2 separate regions of the Homo sapiens genome follow, and region 2 is linked to region 1. The links are contacts of gene promoters, found by promoter capture Hi-C in blood cells and fetal thymus (Javierre and others, 2016). All regions are on one chromosome and are shown on one strand. Each heading gives the region's core, a stretch centred on a gene start or on the middle of the fragment in contact. The rest is flanking DNA. Distances are from core to core; before and after follow the strand shown. Region 1 holds the start of LIX1L (limb and CNS expressed 1 like). Region 2 overlaps ANKRD35 (ankyrin repeat domain 35).

The links. Contacts are between HindIII fragments. The CHiCAGO score rates a contact against its expected background, and 5 or more counts as called.
Region 2: a fragment that was not itself captured here is called in contact with the fragment with the promoter of LIX1L in region 1 in 2 of 17 cell types (erythroblasts and monocytes); the score reaches 9.4 in erythroblasts.

The regions. Positions count from the first base shown.
Region 1 is chr1:145,954,780-145,960,015 of GRCh38, forward strand. LIX1L (limb and CNS expressed 1 like) reads right to left here and starts at 3,238. Exons shown (of 6, transcript NM_153713.3): 1 at 2,857-3,238. The coding sequence starts at 3,148. ANKRD34A (ankyrin repeat domain 34A) reads right to left here. Exons shown (of 4, transcript NM_001039888.4): 4 at 4,662-5,236. RefSeq lists silencers at 2,893-3,172, 3,203-3,292. The HindIII fragment of the contact is 5,249 bases long and covers 2,604-5,236 here.
Region 2 is chr1:145,874,789-145,880,134 of GRCh38, forward strand. ANKRD35 (ankyrin repeat domain 35) reads right to left here. Exons shown (of 14, transcript NM_144698.5): 2 at 4,470-4,600; 3 at 3,603-3,691; 4 at 3,180-3,244; 5 at 2,028-2,085; 6 at 1,781-1,851; 7 at 1,352-1,458; 8 at 34-218. Among named protein-coding and RNA genes, the nearest start is that of ANKRD35, 8.4 kb to the right of the region's middle. RefSeq lists an enhancer at 3,060-4,043. The HindIII fragment of the contact is 1,138 bases long and covers 3,357-4,494 here.

The DNA.
Region 1 (5,236 bases), core at 1,988-4,487:
TAGCAACCATACTGAGTACCAGGTGCTGCATGCTTTATATTCGTTGTCTTATTTAATCCACACAAAACTATCAGGATAAGTATTATAATACCCATTTTACAAAAAGTAAGCAAGTTAAGGAACAGGCCAGAAGTGGCAGAACCAGGATTTAGAAACAATGTTTGTTTGGCTCCAAAGTCAACCCTCTTTGTATTGGGCTGGCCTGCTTTACTACACCATTAATCTTTATACATGCTCTGTAATGTAAACTGTGAGCTCCATCAAGATAGGGACTAAATATCTGCCTTGTCCACCACTGCATCTGGTGATCAATAAATATTTGGTAAATGAATGAAGAGAACAGATGAAGCATAGAGAGATTAAGCAACTTCTCCAAGATCACACAGCCAACTATTTGACAGGGCTAGGTCCTCTGATTACAAATCCCATGCACTACAAACTTATCAAGATCCTACAGAATACTGAGCTGTGTGTGTATCTTGGGTAAGTGGGTGAGGGAGGCAGATAAAGGACAGGAAAGCTTTTTAAAATAAATAAGTAAATACATACATACATACATATATACATACATACTGATAGCCCACATGAGTGAAGGTAGATCTAAAGACTGATTGGAAAAGGTGGATTTGGAGCATTCAGGAAGAAGATGAAGGATGTTAATTGAAGATGATGTGGTAAAGCATTGCTGGATGAGGGAATGAATTGTCTAGGCAGAGGCTAAAGTAAATTGTATTCAGGGGAATACAGCCATTCCCCCAAATAACATGCCATCAGTCACAAGGGTATGTGAATATATGCCAGTGGCAGCTTTGCCTAAGAATTGAAGCAGAATAAGTGATTCCATGTGGTAAAGGACTTCTGAGCCAAATGGGCAGAGATTCTGCTTGCCTGAAGCTGAACTATCTGCCAGACTTTCCTAAAGTACTGGCTGGACACTCAGACTGGAAATGAGAAACTCAAGAATAATGAGAAAGACTGCGATGGGAGGTGGGGAGATAGGAAAGAAAATCACCACGAAGTGTGAAGCCTGATTAATTGCCCTTTGTCAGTACAATCCCCTTGTTCCCTCATCCTTGCTAAGGAAATGAAAGTTTTTACAGGATGTCCAGTTTGGGAGCCAAAGCAGAGGCTCTCCAGGTAACACAGACAAGAAAAAGGGTGTACTCTTCTATAATTTTAATAAATGCCTGTAAGTTGCCAAGAGGAAGGCTTCAGATTTAGTGTGACCACTCTAGGCTACTCCTGTGCCCAGAGGCAAAGACCTTCCCTTGATCTTGACTTAGAGACTTGAAGCAGCAGGATAGTAGCTAATAGCAGTTCCATCACATAGCCTTGTTAAATCTTGGGATTACATTGGAAAAATAGTATTTCCTCATGAGTTTCAGATTCATCCATTTGTATCCCCAGCACCTAGCAGAGTTCCTGTCTTATAATAGGAGTTCAAATTGTATGAAGAACAAAGGGAAATTGATGATGAATGAATCATTAGGCACATATAGCAAAATGGCTCTAAAAATCTGTTTTCATAGGAATTTTTGGGTTTACATTATTAGGATTTAAGAGTGGGAAAAAGTGAAGCATGTTCTACTTAAGGAACTATGAACCAACAAATTTGAGATAATAATCATTTTTAGGTTATATGTCATTTGCAATGTCTCAGTCAATCCATATTGTAACCCTTGAAGAAACTGAAGCTCAGTGAAATTAAGTCCCTTCCCCAAAGATTTGGCTGGTAAGTGACAAAGATCTCCAAAGCCTGTGTGTGCTCTTTTCACTAAACTTTCTTAAAAAAAGAAAATCTACAGAAAAGCCCTGTAACTTTTCTCTGTATTATTGTTAAACAGAAAGTTAAAGATATAGTCACTTCCAGGTCAGGCAGGACCTGGCCAAGCAGACAGAAGGGATGTCTTGTAAATTCCAGGCTTAAATTCTGTATTCCACACCCTTCACTATATATTCCTTATTACTTACACTATAAATCTGGAACTCAAACTCAGACAGGAAACTACCCTAGTTAAACGAAAACAACAAAGAAAACCCTCACATCCCTCTTTCCAGAAATTAACGAAGTTTTCTAACTGAAATAGAGTTTCTAACCTGGCACATTTCCACAGAATTTAACATTGAAAGAGCCAAGGCCTGGGATTTATCCTCAGTTCCTGGGCAAGGGCCAGGAAAACACAGCCAGACAGAAAGGCTGGAGTTGTGAGTCTCCATACTAAAAAAGATACCAAAGTAAGGTACTGAGCCACAGGAAGCTGCTGTGAGTTCAGTGGTACAGGTCCGGATTTAAATACACAATTACTATGAGTGACTTGTGAAGGCACTACCTAGTTCCCCAGTAAATCTGAAGTTGCACTGAAATTTCAGAGTGAAGGTAAGTAAGTAAAGAATTTAACAGTCAAGGTTAAGGGGCTGGAGCAAATTAACAGGTGAGTCCAGGAATTGCAGAGATCACAGAGGAAAGACTGAGAGGGTATGGATGAGAAATTGGATCTGAAATAAAAGACAGGATCCCACACAATGAGGACTGGTTCTCAAAGGCAGAGAGATGTTAAGGTATTAAGCTGGAGGAGGAATTCCATTTCTAAAGGAGAAAAGCTTAGGAAGAAAAGAGGATTGTATCTGAAAAAGAGTCCCTGGAGAATATATTAATAACTCAGTAAAGGGGAGGAGGTAGGAGGCTTAAACGTGTGTATGAGTGTGTGCGTCTGTGCGTGTGCGTAGCCCAGAAGGAAACTCCCCAAAAGGAAATGCATGTGAGGGCTCCACGCCAGGAAAAGCGATCCGGAGGACTGTGGGAGCAAGGCTCCCTTACAGAGGGTGTCGCGCAGGAGGCCAGACCCGCAGACTCACCTCGGCCATAGCCCTGCGTGTGCTTGGCGAAGCTCCTCACCACGGCCTCCACGGCCTCTCGCAGCACTGCCGGGCTGCCGGCGGCGCCGGGGGGCAGGGGTAGTCCTGGGGCCCCAGACAGGAGCAGCGGCGGCGGGGGCGGTGCGGGAGGCGGCGGGGCAGGCGGGGGGCCCGCAGGGGGTGTGGCGGTGGCGGCCGCGGCCCCAGTCACTCCGGGCCGCAGCGCTCGGAGAGTGCCCCTCCCGCTGGTGCCCACACCAGGCTGCAGCCGCTGCGCTCGCATAGTCTCCATCCCGGCCGCCAATGGAGTAGCGCCCCGGAGCCTGCCAGCCTGCCGAGCTAACGGTCCCAACCACCCCAGTCAGCTAGCGCCTGGGGACTCAGGGCGGTGCCAGGGCCGAACCTTCAGTCAAGTGGGGGCGGGGACGAGCTAGGTCCCATGCCAATCACCAGTGATGGGGCGGGAGCTGGAGGGCTCCTGCTCCGCCATAGGCAAATTATTGAGGAGGGTGGGGATTCTCAGAACCAATTGCAAAGAGAAAAAGCGTATCCTCTGAAAGGCAGACGCAGAGCTTCGGCGCGTCTTTGGGAGTCCTGTGGCAAGCACTAGAAAGCAGGACAGAATCTTGGGGCTGGGCTTGAAGAAAAAAATGGGCCTAGATGCAAGATTGGGGAGGATTGCAGACAGAGTAGAGATCATTTTGTCCTACCATTTCATTTCACAGATTGCAGGTGAGGATATTGTGGCTCAGAGAAGTAATTCGACTTGTCCAACATCATATGCAATTGGTGGTGGAGCTAAGGCAAGAAAGATACTGACATTTAATGAACATAAACTATGCAATGTACTGTAGTGCATGTCTTATTTACAATCACAATCACTAACTAGATTTTGTTATTTTAGGGATAAGGAAACAGATGCTGAGGGAAGCTAGAAAAATGGCCAAAATTAAATAGCTAAGAGATGGCAAAGTGGAATTCAGAGTTTAAGCATAGGTGTTCTGATTCCCAATATTTTTATCTTTTTACTATGCCACATTGTTGGGTAAATTTCTGAGTTCACTTATTCTAAGTAGAGGAAGGGAATAAGAGAGAGTGGGATGGGCAAGTCTCTTTGCCTCCCATTAGAGTGAGAAAGAGTTAGGATACATGCAGAAAATTAGCAAACTGAGAAGTCCAGTTGGGGGAATTAAGAAAATTACCCTTGTTGGTATAATATGTCAGACTGGGTTCCTCTGATTACTTTGCACACACACACACACTTGCACACATGCACACACACACACTCTACATACCCTTTATCATGTGGTCACCAGGCCATTTTTGCTTAGGTGAGATTATATTAACTGCTTCCCCCCATCTCTCCTACAGTGGCTCAGAAATCAAAGATGGGGAAATAGAGGCCAGAAGTAGAAGAAAATAGAAGAAACACACTTGGTGAAATGAAAATTAGACCCTGAATAAAAACTGTGAGTAGTCAAGAAATAGGAAGTTTCAAAAGGAGACAGTTAATCTACTGGGATATATCTGCTGATGATGGAGGGAGGAACTCTTTGTAGGAACCTTAAAGAATTCAAGGTTGGACATAGAGGAAACTGGAGGAAATGAAATCCTGTCAAATGCCTTAAAATCTTCAGGACACAGGACACTTGCCTTTTCTCTATAGAAAAGTTGGTTTCTTGGAAAGAAGGTGGCTGGAACAGCTAAGTATCCCTTGGATAATTATAGCTATAAGTTAGTGTTACCCTCCCTCCCCATTCCTCATTCCCCATACCCACACCTCCAGGCAGAAGTGACAAAACAGAGACTTCTGAACACATTTATTTGATATGTCAAGTGGAGAGAGGAGTGATTTAGGGTTTCTCCCCACTTCTACCTGTGGGGGTGTTCATAAGCTCAGACAGACAGAAGAGCAGCTTAGAGCCCATGACCCACCCCCTGGGAAAATGAGACAATCTGTTGTAGTTGTTGGAGGAACAGGGTGGGAATAAAAAGCAGGAAGTTGAGAAGTGAAGTTGAGAGCAGTAAAGACAGCAGCAGAACTGAGGCTGGGGGTTGCTGCAGGAACCCCCAAGAAGAGTGAAAAAGATATCCTGAAAAGTGGTTGGGGTTAGAAGCAGGGTGTGAATAAGGAGCCAGGCCTGGAGAAAGAAGCAAGACCTGCAGAATGGGCTGGGATGTCCACGGAGAGAGTGTGCAAAATCATGATAGGCTGTGTTTCAGGGCATACATGGAAAGCAAGGGATTGCTTCTGCAGGAGGGCAAAGACATCGGAGACTGCCCATAAGTAAGGGTTCCCTACTGCTTCTGAACAAATGCAAGAGAGTTTGGGACCCTAGCCCTGTGTGTTTATTGATATGCTGTGCCTGTAGGTACACAA
Region 2 (5,346 bases), core at 2,676-5,175, 79 kb before region 1:
TAGAGAACGTGGAAGTTACACAAGGGCCTTTACCGCCCCGCCGCCGCCGGCTCAGGGCCTGCTGTAGGTGCCTCCACAGTGCCTTGTCTTGTGTGTGCAGAGCATAGTGCAGAGCATCATGCCCTGTGCTGTCCACAGCCCCCGCGTCAGCTCCGTGGCTCAGGAGCAGTTCAGCCACCTCGGCACTGCCTTTCTCACAGGCCAGGATCAAAGCCGATCTGTGGGTTGAGACAAATCTGAGCACAGACTTTCCACATGGAACCCAGAAGTCCTGGTTCCAGACATTCCACTCACAGGGTAAGCTCTCATTCAGTGGGGTCAGGAGAACAACAGACCAACATTAGACCAGACTAGACTTCTCTTTTTTTTTTTTTGAGACGGAGTTTCACTCTTGTTGCCCAGGCTGGAGTGCAATGGCATGATCTCGGCTCACTGCAACCTCTGCCTCCCAGGTTCATGCGATTCTCCTGCCTCAACCTCCCGAGTAGCTGGGATTACAGGCATGCACCACCACACCCGGCTAATTTTGTATTTTTAGTAGAGACAGGGTTTCTCCATGTTGGTCAGGCTGGTCTTGAACTCCTGACCTCAGGTGATCCACCCTCCACAGCCTCCCAAAGTGCTGGGATTACAGGTATGAGCCACTGCACCAGGCCAGGACTAGGCTTTTCAAATGCCATTCCTTAGAGCTGCAGGAACAGAAATTAGGGGGCCAACTGGATGAGCTCCATTTTTATCTGCTCTGTATATCAAGGTTCTACATACTTTTTTTTTTGAGACGGAGTCTCGCTCCTCTCTCGCCCAGGCTGGAGTGCAGTGGTGCAATCTCGGCTCACTGCAACCTCCACCTCCCAGATTCATGCCATTCTCCTGCCTCAGCCTCCCGAGTAGCTGGGACTACAGGCACCCACCACCATGCCTGACCAATTTTTTGTATTTTTAGTAGAGATGGGGTTTCACCATTTTAGCTAGGATGGTCTCAATCTCTTGACCTCGTGATCCACCCGCCTTGGCCTCCCAAAGTGCTGGGATCACAGGGATTCTACATACATTTTTTATTGGAAAAAAGGATCCTCTTGCATAAAAGATAATTTGACAACCAGTAAATTCAGCCAACGGGTCCAGAAGTGTCGATTCTACTTCTGGGGTCATCTATCTATGAAGATGGTGGTGGCAGCAGGCAGAGCTCTTCAGAACCTCCACTGGGAAGGAATGAGGTTCCCAAGAACACAAAGACCAACCTGACTTCTTCCCCAACACACACAAACACACACACACACACGTTGCCCACTGGCTTCTTTCTAAATTGGTCAGGCATGGGAATTGGGGTGCATAGACGAGGGGGGCTCACTTGTCATTCTTGTCTGTAACATTAACTCGGGCGCCTCGCTGCAGCAGCTGTGAGCAGATAGCTGCGTGCCCACCCAGCGATGCGATCATCAGGGGTGTACGTCCATCCTGCACAGATTGTAGGAAGAGGTTCATGAGCAGCCAGGGACTGCAGAGGCTTGACAATCCTACCGGCTCCCCTCCCCTCACACCTGTCCAAAAAAAATAAAAGCCCAGATCTTGGGTCTGAACACTCCCTTTTGGAGGGTTAGAAGCTCTCCAGAAGATAAGGCTTAACCTCTCTGTGAGGAAGAAGAGGAGAAGCAGGAGGAGAAGGAAGAGAAGGGTGGTGCTAACACAGCCCTAGGTCGTGGAAGTTGGCCAGTCAAGCTGAGAGACAGCAGCAGCCCTTCTGTGTAGGACACTGCCCACTTGCCCATCTGACACTCACATTATCCAACACGTCCAGGAAGGCTTCGTGGTCACACAGCAGGAGCACACTTGAGGCACAGCCAGAGGAGGCTGGGGAGAAGATGTTTGGGTTAAGGGGAAGCATGAAGAAAGCCTACTCAGACTATGACCCAACATCCCCTCCGACCATTTCATTGGTTGGCCCTGGCTGCCCTTCCCTCCTCACGCCTCCCCTTTCCCACCCTGTAGTCTCTGCAGCCCTGTTCCCATGAGTCCCCTGCACACACCTGCCCAGTGCAATGGACTACGGTTTTCTGCATCCACAGCATCTTCATTAGCACCATGCTGCAAATGGCCACAAAGGGAAGCAGCATGGAGCTTGGTGTTAACATCCTCATCCCATACCCCCATTGGGTCACCAATTTCCATGGTAATATGAGGAGGGGCAGGAGGTCCACTTTGGAGAAGGCTATCTACTAGGCAAGCCCAGTTCATCCATTGCTGATGATAGGCAGCCTTGAATATCAGCCCTGGTTTCTAAACCAAGGGGCTAAGAAAAATCAGATGGTAATAAACGTGTTAGGGAAAATGACACCCAATGTCCCCGTGGCTGGTACTTTAGAAACATAATTGTGAAATTTGGAAAGGATTAGGAAGAACGAAAGTAGAACATCCATTTGCCTGATGGCCGGTTAAGATAACTGATTTTTTTTTTTTTTTTTGAGACAGAGTCTCTCTCTGTTGCCCAGACTGGAGTGCAGTGGTGCGATCTTGGATCACTGCAACCTCCGCCTCCTGGGTTGAAGCGATTCTCCTGCCTCAGCCTCCCGAGTAACTGGGACTACAGGCACGTGCCACCACACCCAGCTAATCTTTTGTATTTTTATTAGAGATGGGGTTTCACTGTGTTAGCCAGGATGGTCTCGATCTCCTGATCTTGTGATCTGCCCACCTCCATCTCCCAAAGTCTGGGATTACAGGCATGAGCCACCGCACCCGGCCAGTAACTGCCTTTTGTGCTTTTGGAGACTCATTTATAAATGATCCACATGTCATTTTACATGTATATTTCTCTTTATACTACTAGACTATAAACTCTTCAGAAACAGACAGTAGGGCTTTGGTTTAATTTGAACATCTCTGTCCTCCTTCCTCTTGCCCCTCATCATAGCAGGAAGTCTCTGCAGTGGCTCTGCTAATGACAAAATCGATAGTGCCTGGCAACTCTGCTTTATAACCTGCCCTCAAAGGCACTATCAAACATGGTGCCTGCACATAGTAGTTAAATAAATGTTGGCAAACAAATGATTATCAGCCCTCCTATTGGGGATGAGGCGAGTACATTTGGCCAACTATTCCTTTTAAGTATGAAATGAAGTTAGAAAACTCTGGGACCACTTCTTCCCTTCATAAGAGTGGTATCAAGGGACTGCTCTTACCTGAAGCAGAACCTTAACACACTGTGGCTGGCAGGAGATGGTGGCCAAGTGTAGGGCAGTGCTTCCTGGAACAGAAAGAAGGGGAGAAGGAGGGTAGGTGGCCCCATGCATGCTGATGACTCACAGGGAGGGAAGGCAAGAGACGCACAGATAATCAGGAGATTAGGGAGAGAAGCTTTCAGCCACACGGGGCCAGAAATTCCTGTTCCCCAAGTGCCTGGTACCTGTGATGAAGGTGGGAGTGGGGGTGAGGTGTGCCCAGCTTACGGGGAGGGGAACTCCTGGAAGGATGCTGGCCAGAACTTACTAAGGAGAGAAGCAAGGGGCCACAGTAGGAATGTCCAGCAGGGCCCAGCACCGCCCCCGACTGCTGCTGTACCAGGGGCAAGCAAGCAGCGTGGCCCAGTGCTCCGGCTCACTCACCATCCTCATTCTTGCTGTTGATGTCAGCCCCATTTGCAAGCAGGATAGTCAGACATTCTGTCAGGCCTTTGGAGGCTGCCAGATGAAACCTGCCAGAATCAAGGCCGAGAGGCCAAAGGATAAAGGGACCAGGGATGAGGAATGGGAGAATCTTGATAAGCCCTTCTTGCTATGCTCCCTACCCCAAAGCCAATCCTAAAAGCAGGAAAAGAAGCTCCCCTAGCTTGAATTTCTGAGAAAGAGAAGTCTATATGGCCTCCAATCACAAAGGATGCTAAAAGCAAGGAAGAAATAAGAGCTACAGGTCTCAAGGAATCTCAGACTATTGCAGGGGTGTCTAGGGAACACATAATTACCTGCCTCTCTGAGCACAGAACCTTAGCGGAAGTGGAAGTGTCACAGAAAGAGTCAGCCAGAGCAGAGTGAAGGCTGGACATTCGAAGGCTTTGGGTAGAGACAAGGGATAACATTTCCTTTGACTTAATCACTACTCCCTCTAGCCATGTGACTCCCATGCTACCACTTCATTTCAAATTTCCCATGCATACACACCCTCCTACTTGTGCAATGAAGAAACACTCTACTTAGTGTATATATTCATTTTCTGTTTGTTTAATGGGCTTTATGTACTTTACAAGTCAGTGGTGTCAATCTGGGTTGTGCAATGGATGGAGCTCAGGAACAATATTTTCTTTCCTCACTTTGTGTAGAACTTATATGTAGCAAAAAACTATTGATATACTTGCTAATTAAGACAATGAAAAGAGCTCTGAAGTTGTAGGCATTCCCTGGTCCTATGTTATATTGGATTTGGGGGCTTCAAAAGGGAGCCACATGTAAGGGGCAGGGGCAGGAGGACTGACTTACGGGGACTGGCCATTCGAGTCAAGCTTGGTGGGTCGGGCAGATTTCCTGGAGGCCAGGGCAGCCACGCGTCCCACATCCCCCCTGTGCACTGCCTCCAGCAGCTTCTGATCATGGCGGTTCCATCTCTCCACCTGGTCCAGAGCCACAGGTTGTGTGAATATAGGGCATGAGGGTAGTGTGGAGAAAGAAAAGAGGCAAATGGTTAGGATGCCAAATGAGAGAAAAGGAACATCCCTTTTTCTCTTCCACAAGTCACACATCCTAGATCATTTAGTCCTTCTTAGGTGGGCCTAGCTAAATCTTAACCAGCTAATATGCCACCAAGAACTATTGCTGGTTATTTCCAGCCCTGAGCCAGAAGGACCCTGGACCACTGAATTAAAAATCATTTGAGTGCTGAATGCACAGTATTTCAAATGTCCTTTTGTCATCATGATTAGAGTTGTTGTTCAGTGCCCAACCTCAGAGCAATCCTTTCCCTTTTGCTCTCTAGGTCTTGCTGGAGCAAATGGAACCAACGTGACCACTTTTGAGGACTCATGTTGCCTCTCACCACCGCCTCCACCCCTGAAACCCTGCTGCTCTGCTTTTTGTTGTCAGTTGTTTGAGAAGTACATTAAGGCACCGAGCTTCAGGTTACAGCTAGGAGTTCCAATACCTAACCATTCCACCTCTTTTCATTGGCTTTGGGCCCCACAGTTAAAAGAGGAAACTAGAGTTTCTGTTTTCCCATATCATATCTAGGCCCTTTGGCGACCGTCTCTCTCCTTTCCATGGCAACAACAACCAAAAGGCAAAGAGGTTTCTAGTTATGTTTGAGGAAGCAGCAAGAGGTAGCTCCCCTTCTCCTCCCTCCCAGTTTCCCTGGCAGGGAGCA